3 separate regions of the Homo sapiens genome follow, and all the other regions are linked to region 1. Evidence: promoter capture Hi-C in human tissues and cell types (Jung and others, 2019). All regions are on one chromosome and are shown on one strand. The core of a region is centred on a gene start or on the middle of the fragment in contact, and the rest is flanking DNA. Distances in the headings are between cores, read along the strand shown. Region 1 holds the start of CCDC179 (coiled-coil domain containing 179). Region 2 overlaps LUZP2 (leucine zipper protein 2). Region 3 has its middle 130 kb from the start of LINC02726.

What was found. The method cuts DNA at HindIII sites, captures the fragments that hold promoters and counts their contacts. A contact is called where the count stands out against the background at its distance.
Region 2: a fragment that was not itself captured here is called in contact with the fragment with the promoter of CCDC179 in region 1 in 1 of the 25 tissues and cell types used here (mesendoderm cells).
Region 3: a fragment that was not itself captured here is called in contact with the fragment with the promoter of CCDC179 in region 1 in 1 of the 25 tissues and cell types used here (heart right ventricle).

Annotation. Positions count from the first base shown.
Region 1 is chr11:22,858,650-22,861,942 of GRCh38, reverse strand. It overlaps CCDC179 (coiled-coil domain containing 179), which reads left to right and starts at 1,469. Exons shown (of 4, transcript NM_001195637.2): 1 at 1,469-1,566; 2 at 2,447-2,491. The coding sequence starts at 1,522. The region is part of intron 3 of LINC02718 (long intergenic non-protein coding RNA 2718); the gene reads right to left. The HindIII fragment of the contact is 9,229 bases long and covers 1-3,293 here.
Region 2 is chr11:24,539,828-24,543,120 of GRCh38, reverse strand. All of the region lies in intron 1 of LUZP2 (leucine zipper protein 2), which reads right to left. Among named protein-coding and RNA genes, the nearest start is that of LUZP2, 44 kb to the right of the region's middle. The HindIII fragment of the contact is 5,551 bases long and covers 1-3,293 here.
Region 3 is chr11:23,860,232-23,863,524 of GRCh38, reverse strand. No RefSeq gene overlaps it. Among named protein-coding and RNA genes, the nearest start is that of LINC02726, 130 kb to the right of the region's middle. The HindIII fragment of the contact is 4,922 bases long and covers 1-3,293 here.

The sequences.
Region 1 (3,293 bases), core at 220-2,719:
TAACAAGGAGAGGAACAATCTGTAGAGCTAGATCTGAGGAGGCTCCTAGGAGGGAAATGGCATGCAAATGCAAATGGATAGATTTATTTGAGGCAACAGAAGGGATACCAATTTTTTTTTCCATTTCGACAGGGTTACAGGGAAAAGGATAATGTGGATATTGACAAGGTTATAGGATTTTAGGTGGTATTGAGGTAGCCCCAGTGAGGGCTTCAAAAGCAATGGTAGCATAGCACATAATTAGGAGCACATGATCTAAGGGCCAACCCTGGATTTAAATTCCAGCTCACCCTCTTACTAATAGCGTAACTTCAAGAAAGCAATTTAACATGCTAGCGCCTTGTTTCCCAGTGATTATAATCATGCCCTTACCCACCTTGAGTGGTCTAAAGACTTGATCAGTTAACACATATAAATTCATGTAACAGTGCTGAGCATAGTAAGCTCTATACATGTTCACCAGCATCAGAGTGTGAAGCACGGATTGTCCCACTTCTACTGGAAGTGCCTGAGTGTTGGTGGATTCAGAGATTTTAATAGAAGACAATTTGAAGGGAATACTGCAGAGCACAAAAAAAGCTGGTGCAACATAAAAGTCTTAAGCAGCTTTGAGGACCCAGTTTAAATTGGGGGTCACGGCCGGGCCTGGTGGCTCACGCCTGTAATTTCAGCACTTTGGGAGGGCAAGACGGGTGGATCACCTGAGGTCAGGAGTTTGAGAACAGCCTCCAATATGGTAAAACCCTGTCTCTACTAAAACTACAAAATCATTAGCCAGGCATTGTGGCATGCGCCTGCAGTCCCAGCTACTCGGGAGGCTGAGATGGGAGAATTGCTTGAACCCTCGAGGTGTAGGTAGCAGTGAGGTGGAGGTAGCAGTGAGCTAAGATTGTAGCACTGCACTCCAGCCTGGGCGACAGAGAGACTTGGCCAAAAAAAAAAAGAAAAAAGAAAATAAATAAATAAATAGATCTGGGGTCACAAATATGTATTCCAGCCATCTTCAAGCTTCTCCTCACTTCATCTGGTATAGATAGATGGGAAGAAGGCAGACAGTTGGGTCAGCCCAACTAGAAGCTGTGAAGGAACAACAATGAGGTGGTGGAATTGAGAACCCTAACAATAGATAGACAGTCTGAAGTAAGAGAACATGGAGACTAAGCTAGATATGTTAACAAATGAAAGGGGCTTTATAAAGAGAGAGACTAGAGAGATGAAGGGTAGAAAAGGTGGGAAATTGGTATTCTGCAATTTTCTGAGGAAGAAGGATAGGATATAAGGAATTATGGTAAACTGACTTCCATAACTCAAAGACACTGCAGACAACTTGAGGCCTTGCCTTCCCTGCACTGGACTGGAATACAACTGGGGAAAGGGTGGGGCCCATAGCAGGGAGAAGAATAAAGAGAATAGTGATGGAACTGGGTGGGGCAGGGCTTGAAGGCTGTGGGTGTGGGGCCCCATAATCATTTGGTCCAGGACAGGCAGTAGGCGTCAGGGGGCGCCCTAAGGCTCCACGGCATGTGCCTGTATTGCTGGGACATCGAGCCTTCCCAAGTCAACCCTGTGAGTCTGCTGGGGCCTACAACCTCAACTCTGCCACTCTGTCCTGTGCCTTGAGCTCCAGGCCACTGTGGCCTTGGCCATGGTGCTTCTAACTCTTGTAAATGTGGTTTGGTGCTGGGGGTTGGGAAATTCCAGGTGATGTAGACAGACTACATCCTGACTGCTGGACCCCTCTGAAACAAGAAAAAGCTCCACCCACTGTGTGCTTAGGGGTCAGGTACATCACCTGTATGTTGACTGCCCCATTGGCCTGCCCTAGGAGGTGGAGTGGAAATTACAGAAGTAGGGAGCAGGATAAAGTTCTCAATTGCCAGATGTGGAACAGATTGCTCTTGGGTCTTCTGGTTAAAAGATTGGATCAAAACGAGTGAAGGAGGAGTTATTTAAGGTACAATCAAGAAATAGAGGAAGTGGTGAGAATCTCGAAAACTAACAGCCAAGCTCCCTGTGCTTCAGAAAACCATACGATCTCAATCACATCACCAATTACTCCTAGGCTTTGAAACCAGATTGAAGACTAGATTGCTCAATAGCACCACTGAAGTCCTGTAGAAGCAGAAACATGCATTTTTCGATTTCTCGTACATTCTTTCCCTCCCGAATATATCTCTATACTCTGCCTTTTATCTGTAAGGTGGTTCACAGCTGGTTCTTTTTTATCATAATATCGTCTCCATCTTCCACCACAATTTTTATCTTAGATGTTTTTATTCTGAACTTGACTTTTTTCTTTTTGTTTTTTTAACCTGCTTCTTATAGTTGAAATGATTCATATAATACATAAATTTAAAAGTAGCATAGGCTTCCTATTATAATAATTAATTTACTGTTTTTAATGACTTTTTTGTGTGAATGTGTTTTAATTTTGTTTATTATATAGGAAGGACCAAGACAACATCATCCTTCAGAGGTCACTGAGCGGCAGGTAATGTTTAAATAAAGAACTAGGTTCTGGTTGTTTAAACATTGTGCTTGTAACTTGTTCCTTTATGTAGTGGTCCCTAACATAATAGAACTTGTATTAAGTAGACACTTCAGTATATTTCTTGGGACTCTGGGATCTAATGACTACTATTGGAATGGGTCTTAACTAGGGTAAACTAAATGGCTTATGTTATTTTTTAATGTAACATTTGACACATATACAAAAATAGATGTGGCAGATATAATTTATAAATTACAATATGCCTCCCATTTAAGGATTAAAATATTAGGTATTTCTGAATCCAGCTAGGGAATGCTTTTCTATTCTACCTCCTAAGGTCTCTCCCAGAGGTGACCTCCATCTTGAATTTTAGCTACATCAATCTCTTCCTCTTCTTTAATAGTTTGTTACATAGGTGTCTCTATAAGTGCACTATTTGCTTTTGCTTGGTTTTGAACTTTATAAACATAGGATCACACAAAATTTAGTGTATGATTTACTCTTTTTTCTCAATATTATTTCCTAAGATTTATCTACATTGCTGTATATAGTTTCTTTATTTTCACTGCTGTTCAATATTTTGTCATGGAACATATCACAGTTCATTAATCCTTTCTCTTGTTTATGGACATTGTGTTATTTTTACATTTTCCTAAAATGAATAGTACTATTGCAAACATTCTAGTACACATCTTCTTGCCCCATGCACAAGAATGCCATTTGATTATTTAGGCAGGAGTGTAATGGTTGAATCATAGGAAAAGCAAATTTTTTATTGTTAGAAAGTAGTGCCACACTGTTT
Region 2 (3,293 bases), core at 496-2,995, 1.7 Mb before region 1:
TGCACACCTGAAAATAAATAAAACCAAATCTCCCCGAATATTTAATATAGTATTTTCCCCAAAGTGTTATGAACACACCGGTAATAAAGATTCCTTCTTTTATTTATTTTAATTTACTTGTAGTAAACCTTGGTGTTTCACATGTCCTCATTTCACCTTCAATTCCATTCTAAATTTTTCTAGTTTTTTTTTTTTCTGTGTGTGTGTGTGCTGTTCTTTTTGTTCATTATTTCAAAGAAAACAAACCCCATAATACTTTGGAAACCATAGCTACAGATTTATTTTCTGAAGTGTCGCTGATACATAAATGTAGTCTTTTGCATTGATTGTCACCAAAAAAGTGACACAGTCATTCAAAAGCATAAAAGAACATCTATTTTTTTTGAATAAAAGTGATTATCATTTATTGTTAAACTAGCAAACTAGCATACTGCCAAAATCTTCTGTATAATTATGGCTAGCACTCAAATAAAGACTTTTTCCCCAGTTTTCACCCATATTATTTTGTTTCATTGATTATGAAAATTAAAGATCTACCCCACTGTCCCTGCCCCAATACACTCCTCATGATAGGAAGAAGTAGCTTTTTTTTTTCACACACTGGAAAATTCCCCAAATTGATTTAACATTCAGTAATAACTAAGTTGAGTATATGTTACATAAAAAAATAAGAATCCTGAAGACATACTTTCCCTTTTTCTTGTGTCTTAAGGGCTGATCTTGTCTAAAGCATCAGGTGTGGGTATGACCTCATGACTTCTGAAATCCAGCAGTGACTGTCATACATGTTCTATTCTCTCATGTACACTGGGCTCCTCCATGATTCTGAAATGTAACTCAGAAACTTTCTCTTCTACCAAAGAGAACACGTGGTTTGTGTATGGGGGGGTGAGGATAGTAATACTGTAGTTCCTTTGCTGTATCTCATCTTTAATTTTCTCTGTCCTCACTCTTTCACTTATTAATTTTAATTTATGTTCAGGTTATCTCTAGCTTCCTAGCAGACTCTCCTTCCAATAAGTATCACTGTTAGGGAAACATTTTTTGGCATGGACATCTGACTTATTTATGACACTAAGTTCAATAAGAATTCATCTTTTTGGTATACCATTAATTCTGTGAAAACATAAATCCATTCTGTCTCAGAAATATGTGATTATAAATAACAGAACTTCCTATTATGGCAACAAACTAACAGGTGTTTTTTTTTTCTTATATAAATAGAAGTAAGAAGTTATGCTGAGGATGGTAAAGTTGCTTAATTTTAGAATTTTTGGAATTTTAGGCTGTACTTATCTTCATGCTTTGTCTTTCTGAAAGCTTAGGTTCTTATCATTATTCTTGTCAGTGTACTATCAGTAATCACTTGACATCTGAGATTATGTGGCATAAGGCAGCATTTGAATAATAAAAGTTTTGTTTTTAGTCTTAATATTCTTCCCCCAACCTGCATCCAAAGCATAGTTTCCATGTCTTCAGTAGTCAACATAATCAATTGTTTTGTGGACAAATATACAGGCATGTGGAAATCTCAAGCTGAGAATTCAACAAAACATCCATACACATTAAATCTAAAGGTTAGACTGAAAATGAAGATGGTAAAAGGTGAGAAAGTGACTACTTCTTTTTCTCAGCCCCAAGGATGTTCTCACAGTGGATCTAAATTAAGTTTATAAATAGAATATAGGATGCCAACAGTCACCAAGTTAACTGTCAGGGACACAGTGCCAAATTATGTTTAAGATGTACTTACTTAATATTTCTCCTTCAAGCAGCCAGCAATGATACGATATCTAATCCTTTGGGCTGAAGAAGCTGTAGGCGAATGCCATCACCTCACTCCTTTTTTTTTTTTTTTTTTTTCCTTGAGATGAAGTCTCTCTCTTGTCCCCCAGGCTGGAGTGCAATGGTGCAATCTTGGCTTACTGCAACTTCTGTCTCCCGGGTTCAAGCAATTCTCCTGCCTCAGCCTCCCAAGTAGCTGGGATTACAGGCGCCCACCACCACGCCCGGCTAATTTTTGTATTTTTAGTAGAGACGGGGTTTCACCATATTGGCCAGGCTGGTCTTGAACTCCTGGCCTCAGGTGATCCACCTGCCTTGGCCTCCCAAACTGCTGGGATTACAGAGGTGAACTACCATGGCCAGCCGGCCATCACCTCATTTCTTAAAGTGTCACGTTTACATCTTTGGAATAGCTAAGCAATTATTTAAATTATGTTTTGTCTATTTTGTTTCAAATTTTTTTTTGTTTTGTGTTATTTAGGGATATGATTCTATTAAAAGTCTGTCATAACTGCATCCATTATCCATAACGATTATTCCATAAGTATCAGCATATAAAAGATACTGCTGGTGGCTGAATAATTTTAATCTGCAAGTACATCCTCCCCCATGTTCCATCTTTCCAGAGTTAACTTAGTACCAAGGTAAAAATTATTTTAGGATTCTTCTAAAGGACAGTTGGCATGCTATATTAGTCTGCTCAAGCTAACATAATAAAATACCACACACTGAGTGGTTCAAACAACAGAAATTTATTTTCTCACACTTCTGGATGCTGGGTGGTCCAGGATCAAGCTGCAGGCTGATTTGGTTCCAGGTGAGAGGGCACTTTCTGGCTTGTAGGTGTCTTAGTCTTGGTTCTTGCTGCATCCGCACATGACAGACAGAGAGAGAGCAAGCAATCTCTCCAAAGTCTATTCTTATTAGGTTATTAAACCTATCATGAGGGATCCCCTCTAATGACCTTATCTAACCCTAATTGCCTCCCAAAGGCCCCATCTCCAAATACCATCATATTGGAGGGATAGAGTTTCAATAAGTAAATTTGGGAGAGACATAACAAACATTCAATCTATAACACTTCACTCCCCTACTTGTGGGCTTCTAACGTATTTGAAGAGTCGTAATTGTAAAGAGAGACATGGTTTAATTAGTTTTGTGCCTTGATATGCTTTTATGTTTCCTTTAAAAATATGAAAATCCAAAGTGGTGTACTTTTCCCCACAATGCAAGTTTCATATGGTAATATTAATAAAACTTTCAGATTTATGGTAGGTTTCTATTAAATTTTTCATACACATCACCCTAACTAGGGAAATGTTAAAGAATTCATGTAATGAGAATATATATATATATGTTGTCTTTGTACACACATGTATACATACATATCATAATAATGGTGATGAAGATGAGACAATGAAAGAAAATGACAGAAGCTAGTATTTATTGATTCATTTAATATGTGTCAGATACAGCTCTAAACATATTTATATGAATGAACCTGAATT
Region 3 (3,293 bases), core at 521-3,020, 1.0 Mb before region 1:
CAATGTTTCTGGTACATAGTCATGTAAAATGGTTATTTTCCTTCAAGGAAAAAAAATAATTTAACATGTGTGACTATTCATAAAATAGTATGCTAAAATAAAGAGTGCTCATCAGCATCAGATACATCAGAGCTCGAGAAAATGAGACATTCAATGAATTTAACAATTAGGAGTTTAATGGTTATGTAAAATTTCAAAACCAAGAGAACAGTAACAGCTAACTTAAAGTAAATTGGTGATTGAATGTGTGCTAAAAATATGAGTATGAGAAGAAAATCTTTGATCTCTGTAGCATGATTTTGAGATGAATGAAGTAAATATAAGCATAAGTTAATATAAAAGTTTTTTTATTTTAAGCTGGAGAAAAAAATAAAATGAATATGTTCATATGAAGAGATAAAAGAGTCAGTAGAGAAAGCGGAGTCAAAGATGCAGAAGAAATAAATCTACTCTCACAAACAAGACTTTGCCAAAGGCAAGATGTGGGATTCAAAGCAAAGAATAGTTGGTTCAGACGCCCTTAGGAGGAATAATCAGAGTTGGAGGAACTCAATTGGCTTCTAATACTGTTTGGGGATTTCTGGAGATGAGAGACAGGTGAGATTCCCATGGAAACAGAGGAGAAAAGGTATATAAATAAGATTGCCCATCCAGCAGGGTTTCTTTATGATTAAGGTAATCATTTCCCAGGAAGAAAGACTCAGACCAGTTGTCTACAAATAAGAGCATGCAGATCAGGAGATAATAAGACAACATGACTCATTTAAAAGTGTGAGAATCTATTTATGCATTTGTAATTATGATGGACTACAATTTTTTTTCTGTGTTGTTCTCTAAGCACTTTCTTATATGCATATAACATTATGTTGTATTCAGAGACAAAAATAGAGTAAATAAATCTGGAAATTTGAAAAAGAAGATTCTAAGTTAAAATCACAGTTCTACCCAGACTATCCTGGGCAACATGGCAAGACATGTCTAAATACATTTAAAAAATTATTTACTCCATTTTTTGCCTCTGAATATAAAAATTCTGAATATAATATATTAATATATATAAGGAAGAAAGTGCTCAGAGAATAACATAGAAATATCATATATAGCCACAATAATTACAGCTACTCGGGTAGAATGAGACAAGAAGATTGCTTGAGCCCAGGAGTTTAAGGCTGCAGTGAGCTATGATCCTGCCACTGAACTCCAGCCTAGGTGACAGAAAACGATTGTTTCTCTGCTTGTTTGTCTCTAAAAAACAAGTGACAAACAGACTGCTTGTCTCTAAAAAACAATTTAAGAAAAAAAATCACAATTCTGTGATTCTGTAAGTTACTCATTATTTGATCTTGGCCAAGTCATTTAGTGAGCTGCTTCTAACAATACCTACGGCTATTTAAAAGATTGAATGAAAATGCTTATCCTAAATGCACACAATAGTTGTGTATTATTTTCCTTGAAGTTTTGCTTTTATTAAGTAAACTTAAATAAATAATTATAATTTCAACTCATTTATCATGATTATTAACACATTTTGCTTAGGGAGCCTAATTTCACCACACACTCTTACTGGTAAATTTGCAATAACTTCCGAAGAGCCCCAAGACTTCAGTGGGAGTTTTGCCTCAGTAAACAAGAACATGTTGGACTCATTATGTATTTTAATATAAAATGATATAAATTCCTCCCGGCATTATGTAAGTATAAGAGTGAATTCAATACTTATCCAAAACTGAATTGCACAATATTTAATATGTGACACGTCTTTGAATTACAAGTGCAAGTGATCCACATTATAATTTTGCTGAAGAACCCATTCCCGGCCGGGCGTGGTGGCTCATGACTGTAATCCCAGAACTTTCGGAGGCCGAGGTGGGCGGATCACCTGAAGTTGGGAGTTTGAGACCAGCCTGACCAACACGGAGGAACCCCGTCTCTACTAAAAATACAAAATTAGCTGGGTGCGGTGGCACATGCCTTTAATCCCAGCCACTCAGGAGGCTGAGGCAGGAGAATTGCTTGAACCCGGGAGGCGGAGGTTGCGGTGAGCCGAGATTGTGTGATCGCACTCCAGCCTGGGCAACAAAGGCGAAACTCCGTCTCAAAAAAAAAAAAAAAAAAAAAAAGAACCCATCCCCCTACAACATATTTTGTCTATCAATAAACTTTGTGTATACAAAATGGAATGTGTGTGTGTGTGTGTGTGTGTGTGTGTGTGTGTGTTTCTGATAACTAAAAGGGGAGAAAAGCTTGTCACGTATTTTTTGAAAGCTGAATTGAAGCAATAATTCTTCACTAATTTTCAATTTCTGTGATGTCTTACAGTCATTAATGACATTAAAGACCTTTAATAGTCACTAAGATTTGCAAAAAAAAAAAGTATAATAAGATGAATCTAAAGTTCAGGAAATGTGGCTCTTCTTACACTGATCTATACCAAAGAAACAAACAAAAACCCCCCAAAAACAAACCAAAAAAACCCCACAAAAATAAAACCTAAACAAAATGAAGCATAGACAAACAATAGAAGCCTCTGTTGTGTACCCATTGAACTATTCCTGCAATGAAAACAGCATCCATGGAGGCCAATTAGAGTCTTTGTTGTAAATTTCTTTGAAAAAAGAATCTTAAATGAAGAATTAATTTGGTCACAAAAGACAGAGAGCAATTTAATATGGTAAAGTGGTTTAACCTTTATAAGAAAAGTTCATAATTTAAGAATATATAATATGTGTGTAATTTAGAAATCTAACAGTCAATTCTTAGTCTTGTAGATTTTAACAAGATTGGAGAAATAACTTTTATTTAGTCAGTCAATAATGTATATACAACAAGGATATTCTTACGTGCCAAATACTATGTTGTTTTGGCATCATTTTTTTACTCAACGATCATTTGATTTGAGGTATTAGCCCCATCTTAAATATGAAAACAATTGGTTTAATTGGCAAGGTAGTTTATACAAGATCACCTAGAAGACTCAAAACAAGGGCGGTTTCACTTCAAAGTCTACATTTAAATAAGCATTTTACATTGGCCTTTGGACAATGATTACATGTGACAAAGCTCTTCTATTAAATAATATTATTTATAATTTGTTTGGTTCTGGATTCTTTATAAATCATTTGCATATTTCATTTTATCAGAGAAAATGATTAGATTCATTTTAAAAATAAAGACATTTGCTGAAGTAGATGAGCGGGATTTTACAATTCTAAGACACAGTTCTATTTAATTAGTTTGTCAATCAGAATATCTGGTCTAACTTCATTAACAAATTATTCAAATTTTATTCTCAA